Linked DNA regions of Homo sapiens: region 1 is linked to region 2. The links are contacts of gene promoters, found by promoter capture Hi-C in human tissues and cell types (Jung and others, 2019). All regions are on one chromosome and are shown on one strand. The core of a region is centred on a gene start or on the middle of the fragment in contact, and the rest is flanking DNA. Distances in the headings are between cores, read along the strand shown.

Evidence for each region. The method cuts DNA at HindIII sites, captures the fragments that hold promoters and counts their contacts. A contact is called where the count stands out against the background at its distance.
Region 1: a contact is called between a fragment that was not itself captured here and the fragment with the promoter of DYM in region 2, in 1 of the 25 tissues and cell types used here (lymphoblastoid cells).

What each region holds. Positions count from the first base shown.
Region 1 is chr18:49,058,711-49,062,380 of GRCh38, reverse strand. The region is part of intron 17 of DYM (dymeclin); the gene reads left to right. Among named protein-coding and RNA genes, the nearest start is that of MIR4744, 11 kb to the right of the region's middle. The HindIII fragment of the contact is 6,065 bases long and covers 1-3,670 here.
Region 2 is chr18:49,458,864-49,462,371 of GRCh38, reverse strand. It overlaps DYM (dymeclin), which reads left to right and starts at 1,727. Exons shown (of 18, transcript NM_001353214.3): 1 at 1,727-1,974. RefSeq lists a silencer at 1,749-2,328. The HindIII fragment of the contact is 14,393 bases long and covers 1-3,508 here.

The DNA of each region.
Region 1 (3,670 bases), core at 341-2,840, 400 kb after region 2:
GTCCTGAGCTGGGCTAGATAAGAGTGTGCTTCCTAGACTGTGATCAGAAAGTTAATCGTTGGTGACAGTGAGTCTGCCCTTGTTCCTAAGCCATTGTTTTAGTTTTGTAAGATTTATAGGGCTGACAATCAGATTAAAATGTATAGAATAAGTAAAACCTCCTTCCTTCAGAAATGTGTATTGGGACTTTCTCCCAGTCTCTCTCTCCCCGTTTTCTAACCTTTGAAGATAAAGGCAGGAGAATTATAATTCTGACAAGCCTTCCAGACAGCTTGCTTAATCTGGGCTATGAGGCTATCAGGCCTGGAGGCTTGTCTCTGCAGCTACTGCTAAACTGAACATCCAGGCACCATGAGGTCAGCTGCACAGAGACCCTTTCCCAGAGGCAAACTGGCTCAAAGAGAGACCGTATCAGAAAAATAAAGACTTATTAGGATGGAGCCAGATGGAGGATGGAAACAGAATTTTATTTGTGTGCTCTTTTGTTTCTAGGGAAAAACAAAAGCAACACAGGTCACTGGACTCTAAACATATGAAGTTTGACTATTTACAGAGGAAGCTCTTGGATTCATTTCTAGATCTCTTCCTTCCCAGCCCTGATTTCCTTCCCTTTCTGGGGAGAGGCAGCTGTGAAGAGCTGCCAAGTCTCTCTGCCCACTCACCCTGGTGGCACTGCCAGCTCTCCTCTGTTCCCACTGTCATCTTTGGGTCCTGGCCCTCAGCCCCCATCGCCTAGACCCTGCACTAGTCCCCCAGCTGCTCCCCTCCAAGGGCTGCTTCCCTCCCATCCAGAGGGACCACATTGTTTCCCAAGTAGTCTCCCAAGAGCACGCTGAGGTCCTGGGCACAGCTTTGCTCAGGTGCGTGGAGTGGCCCCACTTTGTATGCAGAAAAGTCTAGGCTCAGTCTCAGCAGATCTCCATAAACCTGCCTTCCAAGCTATTTTCACATTCCCCCTCTTATTCTCAAACACACCGGCTGGTCCGTGGGCACCCTTGTGCTTTTCTGTCTCCCTGTCTGTGCTTCTATTATTCCTCTGCCTGGGATGCCCTTCCCCCCACCTCCACATGCCCAAATCCTACCCTTTGTTTACAGACCACCTAGGTGCCTTCTCCTCCTTGAAGCCTTTCTTGATGCTTCCAGTTTAATTTCTCCCTTCCCTGGATCCCCACAGATTACACTTATTTGCACACTTCAGATGATATTATCACCTCCTATCTTGTCTGATAGTTATTTTTGTACATGTTTTATCTCCATGTCTAGATTATGAACACCATGGTTCGGAGGCGCTGCCTCTACTTTTTGGTATCTTCTGTGGCAGTGGTTTCCATTGAGAAGCCATTGAGATTTTTTTAAGCACAGAGTAACATGATCAGGTTTTTATTATGGACTTTTTTGTTCATGCCCCCCTCACTACCCAGGAACTGCTCAGAAAGGGATGGTTCAAATCTTTTTCTCAGCCAGGCTTCTGAACAATTTCCCTGACTAGGCAGTGCCTTACACTTCTCTCCTCTCCATCAGGACCACCCCAGGTGAACTATCTTGCCAGCATCCCCTGACTGTACTTTTCACGGTCTCTCTCTCTCTCCCTCCTTCTCCCTCTCCCTCTCTCCCCCTCTCTCTCTCTCTCTCCCTCCTTCTCCCTCTCCCTCTCTCCCCCCACCTCCCTCTCTCCCCCTCCGTCTCTCCCCCCTCCCCCCTCCCTTCCCCTCTCCTCCTCTCCCCCTCTCCCCCTCTCCCCCTCTCTCCCCCCTCCCTTCTCTAAGCCACCCTGTGGCAGAGGGTACTGTTCCTCACTCAGCAATGCCTGACCTGGGGCTGCATGGCACACAGAGAGCCTACCTTCAAATCATTTATGTCCAGTAGTGAATGGAAACTATCCAAACCCATGTCCAGCCAGGCACTTTGTAGGAAATATACAGGTAATGCTGTAAGCAGGCAGATACTGGGCACTGGAGAGGACCACTTAAGACTCTGGAGGGAGGGAAGCATCCGCACCAGCACTGTAGGAAATGGAAGTGTGGTGGGAAGGACATCCTAGCTATAAAGAGACCTGTCAGAAAAGGCATGGAGGCGGGCATTTGCCTGAAGTGTGCAGGGGACCCCAGGGAGCTCACCTGGCAGAGGCTGATGGTTTGCTTAAAGGAGAGGAAGCAAATGAAGCTCAGAGGTCCTGGGCACCCAGTTTGTGGAGACTCCAGAGTCCATACAAATCAGAACTGGCAATTATTGCATTGTACTTTCTAACATTAGGTTATGTTAGAGGATTGCTTTTTAGTGATTTTTTTTCATTTGCATTTATCTTAGCTCTCCAAGTAAATGTTAAGATCCTTAAGGGCAGGGACCATATTTCATATTTTTATTAAATGCTTTTATGGTACAAAACGTCACCCTATAATTTATTTTATTCTCATATTGGGTTTTCTTAAAGCAGGGTAAAATGTTCTTACCTGTTTAATTAGGTTAATATTTAAGAGTGAAAATATATAATGTCCAGAATTAACATCAAACTAATTCAGAGGAGGGAAGTTGGGGTAGCTTAAATGAGTGCCCATGAGTTAATGGCTTGTAGCTGGTTGATGGGCACACAGTGTTCACTGTATTATTTTCCCCACTTTGGTGTGCATGGGTAATTTTCCATAATAAGATGTTGGGTCTCCGGTGGTACTGAGTAAGCCTTCAGCTTGCAGGACTCCCAGCACAGCCCCCTCCCTCATACCACCACACTGTGTAGCAGCCACCTGGGCCCCTAACTGCCAGCTGAGCCCCTTGCTACAGGCCTGACTTCCGGAACAGCCAGGAAAACAGCTAAGGATCAACCATTGTGTTAGGGTCCTGGTACAGTCACAGCTCAGTGATGCAGACCCATCAACCAGGTGGCAAAGATGACCATTATTTTGTATCACCATTGTATTTGTTAAAGCACTAGTGATTACAGTTATAATGTAAATATTAATAAAAAGGAAAGAAGGATGCATGGGTGAGCAGGTCACCTTTTGTCTTAGTTCGCTGGGGCTGCTATAACCAAATACTGTGGAATGGGAGGCTTATAAACAACAGAACTTACTTTTCACTGTCCTGGAGGCTGAGAAGTCTAAGATCAAAGCACCAGCAGATTTGGTGTCTGCTGAGGGCCCACTTTGTGGTTCGTAGACAGCACCCTCTAGCTGTGTCCTTACATGGTGGACGGGACTAGCTGGCTGGCTGTGGTCTTTTCTATAAGGACACTAATAATCCTTGCAAGAGGGATTTAATCAGAAGTTTTATCTTGAAACATCTTTCTTCATCAGAAAGTGTTTCGTATGCACTTAGAGGTAGAAACCATAGAAGATGTATTTACAGTATAAGTTTCTCTTTAAATAAGCACATCATTCTGTCTTCCTTAAATCTGCTTTTTCATTGTACAAGTTCCAAAACTCAGATGTTGTCACCCCTTTTGTGCTGAGCATACATTAGTTCTCTCTAGGGGAAATTTAGAGTTTTCACTTTTTCTTATGTATAACAAATTTTGATTTAAAAAAAAAGGTATGTTCTACATCCTCTTGCTCTAAATAACCCCAAATATAAGTGTCTTATTATAGTATGTTGATTATTTAAATTTGGAATTTCCTTTTGAAAGATCCTTTAAAATGTTTTATGGGTGTTTCCAAGGTAACTCTCAATGTTGTTT
Region 2 (3,508 bases), core at 478-2,977:
ATTATAGTAAACATATATTACATATGTTATATTAATATATCATTTAATATATTAATATAAATATTATATTAAGTGGCAAAACCACAATTAGTTTTGCACCAACCTAATATAATTCACTTATGAAAATTTGATACTATATATGTTTCCACTCAGTGTATCATGAAAATGTTTTCAAATAAATATGCATCCATAGCATTCTTTACAATGACTGCATAGTAGTGTCTATGGCTTTTTAGTTAGGTAGTTTGGGGTTTTTTTTTTTTTTTGAGACAGTGTCTCGTTCTGTTGCCCAGGGTAGAGTGCAATGGTGAGATTATGGCTCCCTGAAGCCTCAACCTCCCGGGCTCAAGCGATTTTCCCACATCAGCCTCCCGAGTAGCCGGGACCGAGGGTGTGCCAACCACTCCCAGCTAATTTTTGTATTTTTTGTTGAGACAGTGTATCGCTATGTTGCTCAGGCTGGTCCTTCCGAACTCCTGGGCTCAAGTGATCCTCCCACCTTAGCCTCCCAAAGTATTGGGATTACAGGCATAAGCCACAGGGCCCAGTCTACTTTGGGTTTTAATATGTTTTCCTGTCATAATTCTGCAAGCTCAGTGAATTTACTGGCAGTCTATGCTAGAAAAGAATACCTAATATTTGTATAGTACTTTACAGAGTACACTGGCACATATTGACTATATAATGGGAATAACGGTGCTATCTGTTCCATAGGGTCATTTTGCGAAATAATAGTGCATGGCAAATAGAAAATAATCCATAATGTGAATTGTTATTACTACAGTCATGTCAACATTTCCTGTAATGGCAGAATCATCATCATGCATATATTTTAGGTGAGGAAACTGGCTGAGAGAGGTGAAGTAATTGCTCAAAGACGTCAGTGTGGAAACCTCAGCTCATTTGACTTCAAATTCCATAGTTTTGGCACTATCTCATATTGCTACTCTTTCCCGTGGGACCTGTCCTTTCCGACAACTTTGCAGGCAGGGCTAGCCCTGCCAGCTGCCTCCATCAAAAATTATTTTGCTATTTCTCAATTCTCCAGAATCCCACACAATATTGCTTGACTTTGGGATGGTTATTCAGCTGCAATTAACAGAGGCCTTAATAAGGTTAAGCCGCCAGAACGAGCGGTGTAGCATGAGCGAGGACTCTAGCACCTGGCAGGTGAGGTTGACTCTAGCACCCGGCAGGTGAGGTTTTTGCGCTTCTCTCTCTCTCTCTTTTTTTTTTTTTGAGAAGAGTCGAGCTCTGTCGCAAGGCTGGAGTGCAGTGGCCCGATCTCGACTCACTGCAATCTCCGCCTCTCGGGTTCAAACGATTCTCCTGCCTCAGACAGCTACTTTTTGACTCACTGCAATCTCCGCCTCTCGGGTTCAAACGATTATCCTGTCTCAAACAGCTACTTTTTGTATTTTTAGTGGAGACGGGGTTTCACCATGCTGGCCAGGATGGTCTCGATCTCCTGACCTCGTGATCCGTCCACCTCGGCCTCCTAAAGTGCTGGGATTACAGGCGTGAGCCACCGCGCACGGCTGTTTTTGCGCTTCTCGATTTCGCCACGTGGCTTTGCGGTAGCCCAGGAGGTACTAGGAGGGCGGAGGCACGAATAACACCCAAAGGACTACAGTTTCCAGAAGCCCGCGCGCGCCGCGTGCCACGTGACCACCTGGCTGGCGCGCGCGCCTGGGGGTCTGGTCCCTAGCCGCGTTCTCGGTCGCTTCCCTCTTCTCTCGCCGCCTCCTGGCCTCCGCACCGACGCGGCCCGGGCTGGAGCCGAGCCGGGGCCGAGCTGCAGGCCGGACCGGAGCCGGATCTGTACCCGCTGAGACGTGGAAACATGGAGGCCTGAGCCGGTGTGCGCCACCTGGGCTGCGGCGGCGACAGCGACTTCTCCTGACCCCTCTGCCACCCTCCCATCCGTCCGCGGGTCCGTGGAGCTGGAGCAGATCCCCCAGCCGGCTGAGACAGGTGGGCTGTAGCGCCGCCCCCCTCAGCGCGGCCGGGCCCGAAAGCCTGGCTGTCCCCGGCCTCCTGTCAGAGGGGGTCAGGGGCCACCCTCCGCAACCCGGCCAGCGCCCCGGGGCGGCGGCGAAGGGACCCTCCCTTCCCTGCCCGCGGGCGCCTGGGCCACCCGGAGGGGCTGTGCTGACAGCGGACGGACCTCTGTCCGAGTCCGCTGTTGGGAGTTGGGGGATACCGAAGGCCAAGTCGGTGCTTCCGGAGATGGGGCGGTGTTGGTCTGACAAATGGGCGTGTGATGGGCAGGGTGAGCAATAGCTGTTGGGTTTTTCTTTCTTCTTTTTACATTCATAGTTTATCGAGGTATAACTAACATATCAGAAAATTAACCCTTTAAAAGTACAACTCAGTGGTTTTTAGTATATTCACAGGGTTGAGCAGCCATCACCACCCTTAACTCCAGAGCATTTTTAATCACCGCCCCCCCCGCCCCAAAGAAGCTCGTACCCATTAGCAGTCACTCCTCCTTCTCTCCCCTACACTATTGATCTACTTTCAGTCGCCGTGGATTTGCCTGAGCAATTGTGTTTTGACTGAAAAGTGAAAGGGTGGGTGTTTGTGAACTGGGGGCAGTAGTGGGGTTTGAGGGTATTGGTGTGGTAAAGCTGATTGGATAAAGCTGTTCTCTACTGAACAGGGGTAGAGAAGTGATGGGATGATTGTAATCGGCCAGCAAAGCGGGTACCCAGGATAGACTGATTAGGGGGCACAGATGGAGTGAGTTCCTTGAAAGAGGAGAGGGGAAGTTGGAGAGAGGGGTGTGTAGAGCAAGGGTGATGTGCTGAAGGATGAAAACCTGGAGGGTGGAGGCCGTGGAGAGGAATGTAGCGTCCACCAGAGGAACTCAGGTGCTTAGGCTGATGAGTTGAGGGCTCAAGAGAAGAACGAGGTGGAAGGGAAGAGAATCTATAGGAATGGGTGAATGGTTGTTGCAGAGGATGAAATTTATGAATATATGGATTTCTGGAGTGATTATCCTGCTTTGAAGTTTTATTTTAGATAATCCTCTCAGCAACTTGGAGATAGACCGGACAAGTATGAATATTCCCATTCTGTAAATGAAGAACTAGTCTTTTAGAGGTTAGGTGTCTGCCTTAAGCTCATAAACTGAGTACATAGGGCAAAATGAGTTGGAATAATTGATGAAACTATCAGTCGCAAGTGGATTAAATGGCAGAGAACTGAGTTGGGGCAATGTTAATAGGAAGGAGATTCAGCTATTAAGAAGTCTGTGTTGTTACGACATATAGGTCAAGGAGTTTTTATGTTTTTGCACCTTTTAACCATAGAAAAGTTCACACAGTGAAATAATAAAGGGTACTCCCATGTACCCATTACCCAGCTTCAGCAGTTAACTCATGCCAATTTAATTTCATCTATGTCCCTATGCATTCCTATCCCCACTCACAATTATTTTAAAGCAAATCATAGACATTCAATTTCATCTGTAAATATTTCAATATATATCTGTAGAAGATTGAAT